3 separate regions of the Homo sapiens genome follow, and all the other regions are linked to region 1. The links are contacts of gene promoters, found by promoter capture Hi-C in human tissues and cell types (Jung and others, 2019). All regions are on one chromosome and are shown on one strand. Each heading gives the region's core, a stretch centred on a gene start or on the middle of the fragment in contact. The rest is flanking DNA. Distances are from core to core; before and after follow the strand shown.

Region 1 (4,388 bases), core at 486-2,985:
ATGTTTGGACTGTTTTTTTCCTCTGACTTGTTTCTCCTCAAAATAGGAGGATCACCCACATCCTTTAAGAGTGAAGATGAGGTGTGCTCAGGGCAACCGAAGTTTCCAAGAGCTAAGACACTTTCTAGCTCTGGCCAGTCTTGGTGTCTCTTTGTCCTGAGCCTTTCTCCACTTCCCAACCTGAGCACTGCTTCCTTCCAGCAGGGCTGCTCTGCTGTCCCCCCATGGTCCAAGCTGTGCTGCTGCTTTGCTGTGTCCTGCTGTCCCTGGTGTCTGCCTTTCCAAGAAATGCTCAGAATGAGACTCTGACCCTCCAGCCATCTTTAACAGAGACTGGGCATCCATCAAACATGCTCTCCATTATTTGGAGAACATGGAGAGCCAGATTCCTCTCCCAGATCCCAGGATCTGCCAAGATCTCTTACACACAGCCCCCTCCCTAGCCCCTCTGCCTGAGTACCTGTCCAACTTAGCTCTGAGGGTGCCCTTGGAGGAGGTGGGCTGCCCAACTGAGGCCCATGTTCTGCAGTTTCAGATGCGAGGAAAGGATACCACTGAAACCCTCATCCGTGAGAGTCAAAAAGTTCAATGGGGAGGAAGGCAATACCAACATCATTGTGACGAATCTAGTAGTCCCTTAGGGAAGTGTGAATAAACCCAGCACCCAGCTGCCCATCCTGGGAAATGTATGGATGGTGGCAAATATACCCACTGGGGTAGCTGGCCTACCAGGTAGCTCAGATGGTGATTGAGTTTGCTGAGAAACCATCTCCCATGATGCTTGGTGTCACAGTTCAAAGTTTTGGGTGTCCACATCACCAAGAACTGCAGGTATGAGTCTTGGGAGCATATTGAAGAATTAGGCAAAAAGTTGAAGAAGCTCTCAAGATCATTTAAATTGTCCATGGACAGTGACAATATAATCTATCAAATGTTCCACAGCTATTCTGAAGTGCTTTGTGAGGAAAATGATCCAGGAATTGATCCCGGCTCATTTCAGCTATTCAATATCACATAAGTAATGAGTCTCCTTTCCCAGGACTGTATTCAAGGATGGCACACAGTAAGTAGTTAGAAATGTTGGAGACCACTTAGGACAGATGAATGCTCTTTATTTCACCTCTTCCCTTAAACACATATGTGACCAGTGTTAGCCTTGCCCCTCTCCACTTAGTAGGTGTCAGCTCCCCTCCTTTTTTTTTTTTAAGACGGAGTCTCACTCTGTCACCCAGGCTGGAGTGCAGTAGTGCGATCTTGGCTTACTGCAACCTCCACCTCCCGGGTTCAAGCAATTCTCCTGCCTCAGCCTCCTGAGTAGCTGGGACTACAGACGCCCACCACCACGCCTGGGTGTATATATATATATATATATATATATATTTTTTTTTTTTTAGTAGAGACAGGGTTTCACCATATTGGCCAGGCTGGTCTCGAACTCCTGACCTTGTGATCCGCCCGCCTTGGCCTCCCAAAGTGCTGGGATTACAGGCGTGAGCCACCATGCTCAGCCGCTAATTTAATTTTTAAAATGAAGAGAAATGAGAGTATCACAAACATCTCATCTTTCCTAATTCTGAATTTCCCTGGCTCCTATCATGAGCTTAGAGTGGGAATGTGGCAGGGACATACAGGAAATGCCAAAGAACAGGACTGTAGGCATAGAGGTTGAGTGTGTGACAAGGGGCACAAGGTTTGAGCAGCCAGTATAAATGGGCAAATATTTGCAGAGATTACATCCTTCACTGATCATAGGGGAAAGCAAATATCTCCTTTCCTCATGGGACACAGAACTAGGCAGAACAGGATCAGGAAGCGATCAAACCTACCAAGGCAGTCTCACTTCTCAATGACTGGACTGTGTGGTAATTTGGGGTCCCTATATATGGGTGGAAATAAAACAGAAGTCCCTGGTGACCTGTAAATGGGGGAGACCAAGTGGGAGCAACTGGGGTGCATTTCCTATTTCCTAGGCCTTTACCTAAAAAGAACAGAAGCTTGGGGCCAGGCGCGGTGGCTCACATCTGGAAGCCTATCACTTTGGGAGGCGGAGGTGGAAGGATCACTTGAGCCCAAAGTTCAGAACTAGGCTGGGCCAGATGGCAAAACCACGTCTCTACAAAAAATTTAAAAATTAGCTGGGCATGGTGTCACGCACCTGTAGTCCCAGCTGCTTGGGAGGCTGAGGCAGGAGGATCCCTCGAGCCCAGGAATTCAAGGCAGCAGTGATTTGTGATCCCATCACTGCACTCTAGTCTGGGCAACAGAGCAAGACCCTGTCTCTAAAAAGAAAGTACAAAAGCTTGGAAGCAGGTGATGTATGAGGTGTCCCCCTAACTGAGTCTTGGGCTCACCATCGCCCTTAGGGAAATGGTTTGTATGTTTCGGATTTCTCCCCTTTCTAGGGTACTCTGCTCCAGACATGCGTGGCCTCAGACTCATCATGATACCAGTTGAGCTGCTACTTTGCTACCTCCTGCTGCACCCTGTGGATGCCACTTCATATGGAAAGCAGACAAATGTCTTGATGCACTTTCCCTTGTCCTTGGAATCCCAGACACCCTCCTCAGACCCCTTGTCCTGCCAATTTCTGCACCCAAAGTCACTGCCTGGTTTCAGCCACATGGCCCCTCTACCCAAGTTCTTGGTAAGCCTGGCTCTAAGGAATGCCCTGGAGGAAGCTGGTTGTCAGGCTGATGTTTGGGCTCTACAGCTACAGCTCTACCGCCAGGGTGGTGTGAATGCTACACAGGTCCTCATCCAGCATCTTCGAGGGCTCCAGAAAGGCAGAAGCACAGAGAGGAACGTGTCAGTGGAAGCCCTGGCCTCTGCTCTGCAGCTGTTAGCCAGGGAGCAGCAAAGCACAGGAAGGGTCGGGCGCTCCCTCCCGACAGAGGACTGTGAGAATGAGAAGGAGCAAGCTGTGCACAATGTAGTCCAGCTGCTGCCAGGAGTGGGAACCTTCTACAACCTGGGCACAGCTTTGTATTATGCTACTCAAAACTGCCTGGGCAAGGCCAGGGAACGAGGCCGAGATGGGGCCATAGATCTGGGATATGACCTTCTGATGACCATGGCTGGGATGTCAGGGGGGCCTATGGGTCTAGCGATCAGTGCTGCACTTAAACCTGCATTAAGGTCTGGGGTTCAGCAGTTGATCCAGTATTACCAAGATCAGAAAGACGCAAACATCTCTCAGCCGGAGACCACCAAGGAGGGTTTGAGGGCCATCTCAGATGTGAGTGACTTGGAAGAAACAACTACTCTGGCTTCTTTCATATCAGAAGTAGTAAGTTCAGCTCCCTACTGGGGGTGGGCCATAATCAAGAGCTATGACTTAGATCCTGGGGCTGGGAGTCTTGAGATATAAAAGAATGTGGTAACCACAGAATTAATAACTGTACTACCCTGACAAGCTATATACATGTCTTCAAAATTTTAATCTGATTTATCCAGGAGGAAGGCTGTACAGTAAAACGTAAGAACGTAAATGTTTGGGTGTTGAAGTCACAGGGTTTGGTTTCGAATCTAGGCTCCACTTGTTAGAGCCTCGGTGATCACTGAATAGTAACTTCTTTCTTGAACTAAGATCAGTTTTGAAGTTTCTAAAGGAGATAGAATGATTTTAACCTCAATGAGTTGCCCTGTAAATTTAAAATGATACAATGAATCTAAAATGCTTATCACAGTACTTTCAATAAATAGCTATTAGCCAGGTGCGGTGGCTCACGCCTGTAATCCCAGCACTGTGAGAGGCTGAGGCGGGATGATCACCTGAGGTCAGGAGTTCAAGATCAGCCTGGGCAACATGGCGAAACCCCGTCTCTACAATAAATACAAAAAATTATCCTGGCGGAGTTATGCACGCTTGTAGTCCCAACTACCTGGGAGGCTGAGGCGGGAGAATCACCTGAGCCTGGGAGGTCGAGGCTGCAGCGAGCCGAGATCGCGCCGCTGCATTCCAGCCTGGGTGACAGAGCGAGACCATGTCTCAAAAAATAAAAATAAAAAAAAATTGTTTTCATTACCTCAGCCCTCCTCTTCCTATCCCAAGGCGTCGAAATTCCGGTCCCACCCCTTCCCATGGAGCCCTTGGCGTCTCCAGGCTCCTCAAGCTAGTTTCGGTTCCGGGGCTCACGCGCGGGTTCTCGAAAATCAGCTGTTTCAGTCTTGGGCTAGTCCACTAATTGGACTCCTCCCCTCGTAGAAAGTGCCTACTTGAACTTCTCCACCAATCGCTGAAGCTGCAGGTGTGGTTTCGGCTCAGCTTGTCCCGCCCTGCGGAGGGGCGGAGTTGCGGCGGCGCCAGTGAGCTCGCAGTCTGGGAAGGGCTTGACTGAATGGCAGCCAGTGTCGGGGTGGCGGCTGGGAATGGGGGCCGCTCCGGACTT
Region 2 (4,553 bases), core at 2,054-4,553, 280 kb after region 1:
TGTAATGTATGATCCCAAACCTTAGGAGGACAATTAGTGAAATCTGAATAAGGTCTGTAGCTTAGATAATATTTTGTGTTAATGTTAATTTTCCGATTCAAACAACTATGCTGTGGTTATGTAAGAAAATATTATTTTTAAGGAATATACGCTGAAATATAACAGGGGTAAGAAAGAACCATGTGTGAAAATTTACCCTCACGTGGTCCAGAAAAACAATAGCATGTGTTTTGTGTGTGTGTGTGTGTGTGTAGAGAGAGACAGAGAGAGAGAGAAGTGATAAAGCGTATGTGGTATTTTTTTTGGCGGGGGACAGAGTCTCGCTCTTTCACCAGGCTGGAGTGCAGTGCCGCGATCTCGGCTCACTGCAACCTCTGCCTGCCAGGTTCAAGCTATTCTCCTGCCTCAGCCTCCTGAGTAACTGGGACTACAGGCGCACACCACCACGCCCAGCTAATTTTTGTATTTTTAGTAGAGATGAGGTTTCACCATGTTGGCCAGGATGGTCTCAATCTCTTGACCTCGTGATCCACACCTAGTGATCCACCTGCCTCAGCCTCCCAAAGTGCTGGGATTATAGGCATGAGCCACTGTGCCCGGCCATATGTGGTATGTTAACATTTGGAGGATCTGGGTAAAAGAGTGTATGGGGGGCCAGACGCGGTGGCTCACACTTGTAATCCCAACACTTTGGGAAGCTGGGGCGGGTGGATCACTTGAGGTCAGGAGTTCGAGACCAGCCTGGCCTACATGGTGAAACCCTGTCTCTACTAAAAATACAAAAATTAGCCGGGCATGATGGCACACACCTATAATTCCAGCTACTCAGGAGACTGAGGCAGGAGAATTGCTTGAACCCGGGAGGCAGAGGAGGCGGAGGTTGCAGTGAGCCAAGATTGCACCACTGCACTCTAGCCTGGGGAACAGAGTGAGACTTTGTCTTAAAAAAAAAAAAAAAGTATATGGGGAATTTTATACCATTCTTGCAACTTTAGTGTAGATCTAAAATTATGTCAAAATAAAAAATTAAAGGAAAAAAAAAAACAGGTGGTCATAGTGGGTTTTTTTTACACACACACACACATTTTAAATGCTGTCCTATAGACTAGAAAGTCCCTTTGTTCTTTTTGCTCCAAGGAGCAGAATGAGTGAAAACAGCTAAAAGTCATGGGGAGACAGAATTTTCTTTTCTTTTCTTTTTTTTTTTTGAGAAAGAGTCTCGCTCTGTCGCCAGGCTGGAGTGCGGTGGTGTAATCTCGGTTCACTGCAATTTCCGCCTCCTGGGTTCAAGTGATTCTCGTGCCTCAGCCTCCTGAGTAGCTGGGATTACAGGCATGTGCACCACCACACCCAGCTAATTTTTGTGTTTTTAGTAGAGATGGCATTTCACCATGTTAGCCAGGATGGTCTCGATCTGACCTCGTAATCCGCCCACCTCGGCCTCCCAAAGTGCTGGGATTATAGGCATGAGCCACCGGGCCCAGCCTGGAGACAGATTTTTATCCAAATCTAAGGAAGAACTTTTACAAAACTTTAAGAAGGAGGTTGGGTGCTGTGATCCCTAGCACTTTGGGAGGCCAAGATGGGAGGATTGCTTGAGCACAGGAGTTCGAGATCAGCCTGGGCAACATAGCAAGACCCTGTCTCTACAAAAAAATACAAAAAAATTAGTCAAGTATGATGGTGTGTGCCTATAGTCCCAGCTACTTGGGATCACTTGAGCCCAGGAGGTCGAGGCTACAGTGAGTCGAGATCACGCCACTGCACTCCAGCCTAGGTGACAGAGCAAGACCCTATCTCAAAAAAGAAAAAAGAATAAAAAAGAAAACTTTAAGAAGGAGGATATGTTGTTCCTGTCCCTTGTTCCTTGGCAGGGCGATATTGAATTGCTCAAAGATGTTCCTGAGGGGACCGAAGGCCTGGATGGAGGATGTGTTAAGCATTCTTTCAGGTCCTTTGTAACAGGCTAGAATTTTATGACTTTGATTCCTAGTCAGCTCCACATAGGAAAGTTTTGGCCAATGAAATGAACTGTGAGGGGTGCGTGGGCTGGGGTCTAAGGAGGGAAGGCAGGATCTCTAACCCATTGAGGCCGGTGATCAGAAAGTCCAGGTTGCCCAGGATCTTGGTGCAGTTCACAAATCCATCAATGTTGCTCGAGTCCACAGTCTGGAAGCGGCTCCCAGAGCCTGTTCCCTCACAGGCTGCAAATGTAAGAGAGGTTCAGTGGGGGTGGTCTGCGCAGGCTCAGAGGAAAGGCTGTCTCTTTACAACTTCTTACCATCTCCTACCCACCTTTGGGACATAGTCCCCCACAAGGCTCACACATCTTGAGCCCATTTTTATCTACTTCCATCTTGTCAGGAGGACAGGCCCTGACACAGGATGTTTGATCCACCACAAAGTTATCTAGGGAAGAGGAGGAGGACACCATTAGAGATGAGGGAGGAACATCACCAGCTACCAATGGAACCCTTGCTCTGGGCCTAGGCTCCCTCCAGCTCTGCACTGGATTTGTCCCCATCTGCCACCCTAGATCCCTTAAGTGCTGCCCTATAGATTCAAAAGTCTCTTCACTATTTGTTGCTACAAGGAGCAGAAGTAAGGGTGATAGCTGAAGTCATGGGAGGACTGGACGTAAGGGTCACTCACTGGAGTGGTTAGATGATCATAACCATTCACCAATCTCCCTATTTATCACCAACTGGATTCTTTTTCCCTTCCACAATTTTGTCTAAAATCTTGGATCTACTATTGTTGATCATTGTTCCTTCCCCTCAGACACTTACGGGGACAGCTGGCTACACAAACTCCTCCATACTGATACTTGGTGTGGGGATTGGGTTCCAGCTGGAAAGTTAGCTTGTTGTAGACAAGAGGCTGTGGACAGCGAGGTACACAGGCTCCACTGTCATTGAAGTGCCGGCAGGCCTGGGAAAAAAGGAGGCTCATCAGATTTATGTTACGTGTGTACCCCTACCTCCTCCTCAAAGGCCACATCCCAATTTCAGAACCCAGGCAATGGAAAGGGTACATACAAAGCAGTCTGTGTCCTGAGGGCCTGAGCAGCCCCCGGCACACTCATCATGGCAGCACTGGTTGGGGTTGGGCCCAAAGCAGTGACCATTACACTGAGGAGCACAGATGGTCTTGGTCACTATGGAAGGAGAGAAAGCATGGCTGTTAGGGCTCCTAGGACTGAATTCTGAGGCCACTGCTCATGCCTCCCCCACAGTGTTGACCCAGGCTTGGGGAGGAAGGGATATGAAAGCGTATGAGTGAAGTTTTTGGAGGGAATTTCAAACCCACATGTCTGGCAGTCTTCTGATCCAGGACCCCAGCATCGCCCCTTGCAAACCTCATGACAGGGGGGACCTGGTTGGGAAGGAAGGCAACACAAGGGGCCATCAGGGCTAAGAAAGGCTTGTTTTAATCAACGGGGTATGATGTCAGTACACAGGCACCTCAATCCCGGGAAGCAAAAAGCCAGGGCTGTGTCCCTCCCTGCCCTTGGAGAGCAGGGCTGGGCTCAAGTGGACCTGTCAACAAGGGGCGCGGCCACGCCTCCACACCACCCACTGGGCAGCTGAAGGGGAGGGACTGGGGCAAATGCCAACCTTAGTCCTAGTCCCAACCCAGGAACTTAGTTCCTCCTGGGCAAACTGAATATATGCAGGAATATATGCATGTGAATGGTCAGGGGAAGGTGGGCTCCAAGGAAATGGGAGTATATTCTAGTGGAACGAGTAACAGATGTGGAGTCTAAAGATCTGGCTTCCCTGCTTAGTACTCAGGGATTTTTTTTTTTTTTTTTTGAGACAGGGTCTCACTCTGTTGCCCAGGCTAGAGTACAATGGCACAATCACAGCTCACTGCAGCTGCAGCCTCCTGGGCTCAAGCAATCCTCTGCCTCAGCCTCCTGAGTAGCCGGGATTACAGGTGCGAGCCACTACGCCTGTCTGATTTTTTTAATTTTTTGTAGATTTTTTGCTATGTTACTCAGGCTGGTCTTGGACTCCTGGGCTCAAGCGATCCTCCCACCTTGGCTTCCCAAAGTGCCAGGATTATAGGCATGAGCCACCATGCTCGGCCTGCTCCTTTTCTTGAAACACCTCCTCTGTGGTTTAGATTCCAGGAGACTGGAATGGTCTGCCCTGGTGGGCTGCTGAGTCAGGGACCTGAGGTGTTTGTTCACTGGGGAGGCGGGTTCAGATCAGGAATGTAAGGATGATGGAAAGAAGGGAGTCACTCTGGTTTGGTGGGACTGGGGAGCAATCTTGATCACGGCCACTTACAGCTTCTGCCATTGTCCTTCACCACTATCTCAGCATCTCGGTCCCTCACGATGTCCCTCCAGTCAATTGTGTCCATGTGACAAAGCTTATCGTTCTTCTCAATATAAACACCCCCTGACAGAATCTCTGAGGTAGGGAAAGAAGTGACAGGGTTAAGGGCCGCAGCGGAACGCCTCTTCCTTACCTCTCCACCCATCCAAAAGGACACCTGAGACTCAGGAGTGGGAGAATGAGGCAGACAGATAGGTCCAATTAAAT
Region 3 (4,207 bases), core at 845-3,344, 300 kb before region 1:
CAACATATTTACAAATGGTTTTATATAGATTCACAATTACTTCTTATTTTCTAAAAAAAAAGAAAAGGGAAAAGCAATTTTTAAAATGTGCCCATTTTTGACGAATGGGGGTATCTATTAGGGAACTGGTTGTACCGTAGACCATTCCTAAATGGATTAGATTTCCAAAGAATCATTGTATAGAGACATTATATATTAATACCGTACTCAATTATAACAGTCAGTTTAGGCCGGGCGAGGTGGCTCATGTCTGTTATCCCAGCAGGCCAGGTGGGCAGAGTACGTGAGGTCAGGAGTTCGAGACCAGCCTGGCCAACATGGTGAAACCCTGTCTTAAAAACTTAGCCAGACATGATGGCAGGTGCCTGTAATCCCAGCTACTGGTGAGCTGAGGTGGGAGAATCGCTTGAACCTGGGAGGCGGAGGTTGCAGTGAGCCAAGATCACACCATTGCACTCCAGTGTGGGCAGCAGAGCGAGGCTCCATCTCAAAAAGAAAGAAGAGAGTCAGTTTATAGGTATGATTTTGACTAAGAAAGTAAGTTAAATAGGTTTTATGTCAGGATTGGTCAGAGACCGATAAAACAGATGGACATTGGGAGGCGGAGATGGGTGGATCATGCGGTCAAGAGTTTCAGGCCAGCCTGGCCAAGATGGCGAAACCCCATCTCTACTAAAAATACAAAAATTAGCCGGGCATGGTGGCGGGTGCCTGTAATCCCAGCTACTTGGGAGGCTGAGGCAGGAGAATCGCTTGAACCCGGGAGGCAGAGGTTGCAGTGAGCCGGATCTCGCCACTGCACTGTAGCCTGGGTGACAGAGCAAGACTCCATCTCCCCCCACCCAAAAAAAAAAAAAAAAAAAAGATGGACATTGGAAATCTGTAAGAGGAAGATACACTAAACTACTTTTCTCAACATCTTTCCAACCCCAGCATCCTGTTAACATCTCCCAGAAAGTTATTTAATGCTATTTAGAAAAACACTTAATATTCACTCAACAGCTAGGATTAGAGTTCACTGTCTTCTATCAGTCCATTTTTCTTCATATTGATCCATGTTTTCTCTTTGAATGCCGAGATAGGTTAATTTAGGAATGGATTCAACGGGTGGGCTAAATTGTCACCAAAAGGCACACATCATTTTTTATAGGTAGATAAATCCTCTGCTGTACATCCATTCACCTTAGGTAAACCTAGTCAAGTCCAATGACTAAATTTCTAGGCTTGATATGACTACCTACCTGTGCTACTTTAGTCAAAAATATAGCACTTGAACTTTTTTAGGTAAACTGTTCAGTTAGCAAACGAATATTTGATCAGCTCGGTAACTTTATTTTCCCTCTTTCAGGATTCACAAGACAGTGATGATGAAAGTAAGTGTATATAAAAAGTATGTTTATACAGTGATACTTTGCATCAAAAAACAAACTCAAAATAGAGATGTTAACTTCTTTGGAAGTAAAGTAATTTTTTCTTTATGACCTTGAATAAATAACCAAAGCAGAAATGTGAATAACTTGATAGCAAGACAACCTATTAATTCATTGGGCAACTATGTATTTCGATTTTTGGTTGCTTTTCCTTTAAGACAGTAAAATTGGTAGATTATTCACTTGTACTATATACTAATATTTTTAAAAATTCTTTCAGAAATGCCAGATCTGGAGTAAGGAATATTGTCATCACCTGGATTTTGAGAAAGAAAAATAACTTCTCTGCAAGATTTCATAATTGAGAGAATTCCTGAGTTGATAGCTCTAAAGGCAGATATGCTGTATTTGCCTACTTTAACCCATTTTTCAACCTGTTTGTTTTTTAAAAGGCTTCACTAAGGGTTGATATGTACCATTGTATGGGGCAATTTTAAGTCAGCTAAGGCAATAACCTTATGCATGAACATTTCCCAGACTTTCATGAAGCTGTTGAGGTCCTAGGCAATTAATGCAGCAGTTGCGATAAATAAAAACATCTCACCTAAGTCTCCTTTTCTTCATAACATAGATACTGACATGATAGGAAGCTCTCAGCTTAGGGAAAGAGAATAAATTTTAGATTATAGAACATGGATTCAAAAGTGACTGGAACAAATTGGCTGACACCTTACTGGTAACCTGCTATTCTTCTGGTGTTATCCTTCAGGATTGTTCCACTAAAATTTATTTTTCAAAAAATTTACTTCACATTATTCTATGTAAGTGATGACTTGTCAGTGTTCCAGGTGTATCTTAGCTAAAACTAGAGAATGCCCTAACTTAGATGGTTTTTGAAGCCTATACAATTGGTATTGTTTGACCCTTAAGCTTTTACATCTCTTAGCATGGAGGACGAAGAAAGCTGTACATTGTTGCTTGAGAGTCTGTACATTTAGTCCAGATTTGTATTTGCACTGTCAGTATGGCAAATGAGTGAAAAATGTTTAATACACTATTGGATTTTTTATTTCCTTTTTTTGATTCAGCTTATACCCGGGCTGAAAACCTCAATTTATGTTCATGACAGTGGGGATTTTTTTAAATGTCTACATTCTTTCTAATAAACTGTTGGAAGACTTCTTGGCTGTCCTTTTAAGTGTCTGGCTTACTGTAATTTTTATGTATTTACCATTTACTGGAATGGAGTTTATTTGAGGAAGAATTTGGGATTATTCCTCTGTTTGAAAAAAGAGGCTTGCTGTAATGTCACAGGAAACCTTTTAAAAGTGGATCTGTAATAGCATATTGTAGATGCACTTTGCAGCAGTTGGAAAAGAAAGTGTTGTGTGATTTGATTGAAATAAAACTAAATGTGTTGTCCTCCTAAATCTTTGAACTTCTGCATTTTGGCAGTTTTCATTCCCTCACAGCTTCTGTATTTGTCATAATGTAGAAACACTATGTATTTTAGTGTTTCTTTGTCAGATATTCAGGACCTGTGTTGCAGGCAGTTAAAGTGCTGGTGATACAAAGATTAATATTTCAGATGATTGCTGAGCTCAGAGAGCTCACAGGCTAGGGGAGACAAACATGAGACAAAAACTTGATGGAAAGTGCGATAATAGATACGCATAATGTATTACGATGTGTAGTTCTTAGCTTCAGGGGGGAAAACATTTTAAAAAAACTTGTTTTTCTTCAAAAAATTTATACTTCAGTTTTGGGAATTAATGATTCACTGGCTTACTGCCCAGCCTTGAAACGCATTATACAGGCCGGCACGGTGGCTCCCACCTGCCTTTAATCACAGCACTCTGGGAGACTGAGGCGGGCAGATTGCTTGAGACCAGCCTGGGCAATGTGGTGAAACTCCCTTTTTTTTTTTTTTTTTTTTTTTTTTGGAGACGGAGTGTTGCCCTGTTGCCCAGTGCAACTTCCACCCTCCAGGTTCAATCGATTATCCTGCCTCAGCCTCCTGACTAGCTGGGATTATAGGCGCACTCCACGTACCCAGCTAATTTTATTTTTAGTAGAGCTGGGTTTTCACCATGTTGGCTAGGCTGGTCTCGGACTCCAGCCTGCCTCGGCCTCCCAAAGAGCTGGGATTATAGGCAGGAGTCACCACGCCCGGCCTGCGAAACCCCATCTTGACAAAAAAATAGCTGGGTGTGGTGGCATGTTCTTGTAATCCCAACTACTCTGGAAGCTGAGGTGGGAAGATCACTTGAGCCTGGGCCATTGGGGATGCAGTGAGCCAAGATTGCACCACGAACTTTTCTGTAGACAAGTGTCTCAAAAGCCGGGCACGGTGGCTCACGCCTGTAATCCTAGCACTTTGGGAGGCTGAGGCGGGAGGATCGCCTGAGATCAGGAGTTCAAAACTAGCCTGGCCAACATGGTGAAACCCTGTCTCTACTAATAATCCAAAAAAATCAGCCAGGCGTGGTGGTACATGCCTGTAACCCCAGCTACTCAGGAGGCTGAGGCAGGAGAATCGCTTGAACCCAGGAGGCAGAGGTTGCAGTCAGCCCAGATTGTACCATTGCACTCCATCCTGGGCTGCAAGTGAAACTCCATCTCAAAACAAAAAGACGGTCTTGCCCAGGCTGGAGTGCAGTGGTGCAATCATATCTCAAGCACCACACCTGGTGGACTTTATTCATATATTTTGTAGAGATGGGTCTCCATGTTTCCCAAGCTGGTCTCGAACTCCTAGGCTCAAGTGATATGCCTGCCTTGGCCTCCACAAGTGCCAGTATTAAGGTGTGTGTCACTGTGTGTCACCTGGCTATAAT

The links. Contacts are between HindIII fragments. The study calls those that stand out against the background at their distance.
Region 2: a contact is called between a fragment that was not itself captured here and the fragment with the promoter of APOF in region 1, in 1 of the 25 tissues and cell types used here (hippocampus).
Region 3: a contact is called between a fragment that was not itself captured here and the fragment with the promoter of APOF in region 1, in 2 of the 25 tissues and cell types used here (liver and spleen).

The regions. Positions count from the first base shown.
Region 1 is chr12:56,360,204-56,364,591 of GRCh38, reverse strand. APOF (apolipoprotein F) reads left to right here and starts at 1,735. Exons shown (of 2, transcript NM_001638.4): 1 at 1,735-1,862; 2 at 2,403-4,024. The coding sequence starts at 1,847. The coding sequence ends at 3,367. RefSeq lists enhancers at 4,003-4,092, 4,163-4,342. The HindIII fragment of the contact is 13,203 bases long and covers 1-2,147 here.
Region 2 is chr12:56,086,399-56,090,951 of GRCh38, reverse strand. ERBB3 (erb-b2 receptor tyrosine kinase 3) reads right to left here. Exons shown (of 28, transcript NM_001982.4): 4 at 4,296-4,421; 5 at 3,310-3,375; 6 at 3,039-3,157; 7 at 2,790-2,931; 8 at 2,296-2,409; 9 at 2,084-2,204. Among named protein-coding and RNA genes, the nearest start is that of ERBB3, 8.5 kb to the right of the region's middle. The HindIII fragment of the contact is 6,453 bases long and covers 77-4,553 here.
Region 3 is chr12:56,661,942-56,666,148 of GRCh38, reverse strand. It overlaps PTGES3 (prostaglandin E synthase 3), which reads left to right. Exons shown (of 8, transcript NM_006601.7): 7 at 1,349-1,373; 8 at 1,651-2,800. The coding sequence ends at 1,670. Among named protein-coding and RNA genes, the nearest start is that of ATP5F1B, 18 kb to the right of the region's middle. The HindIII fragment of the contact is 7,230 bases long and covers 1-4,207 here.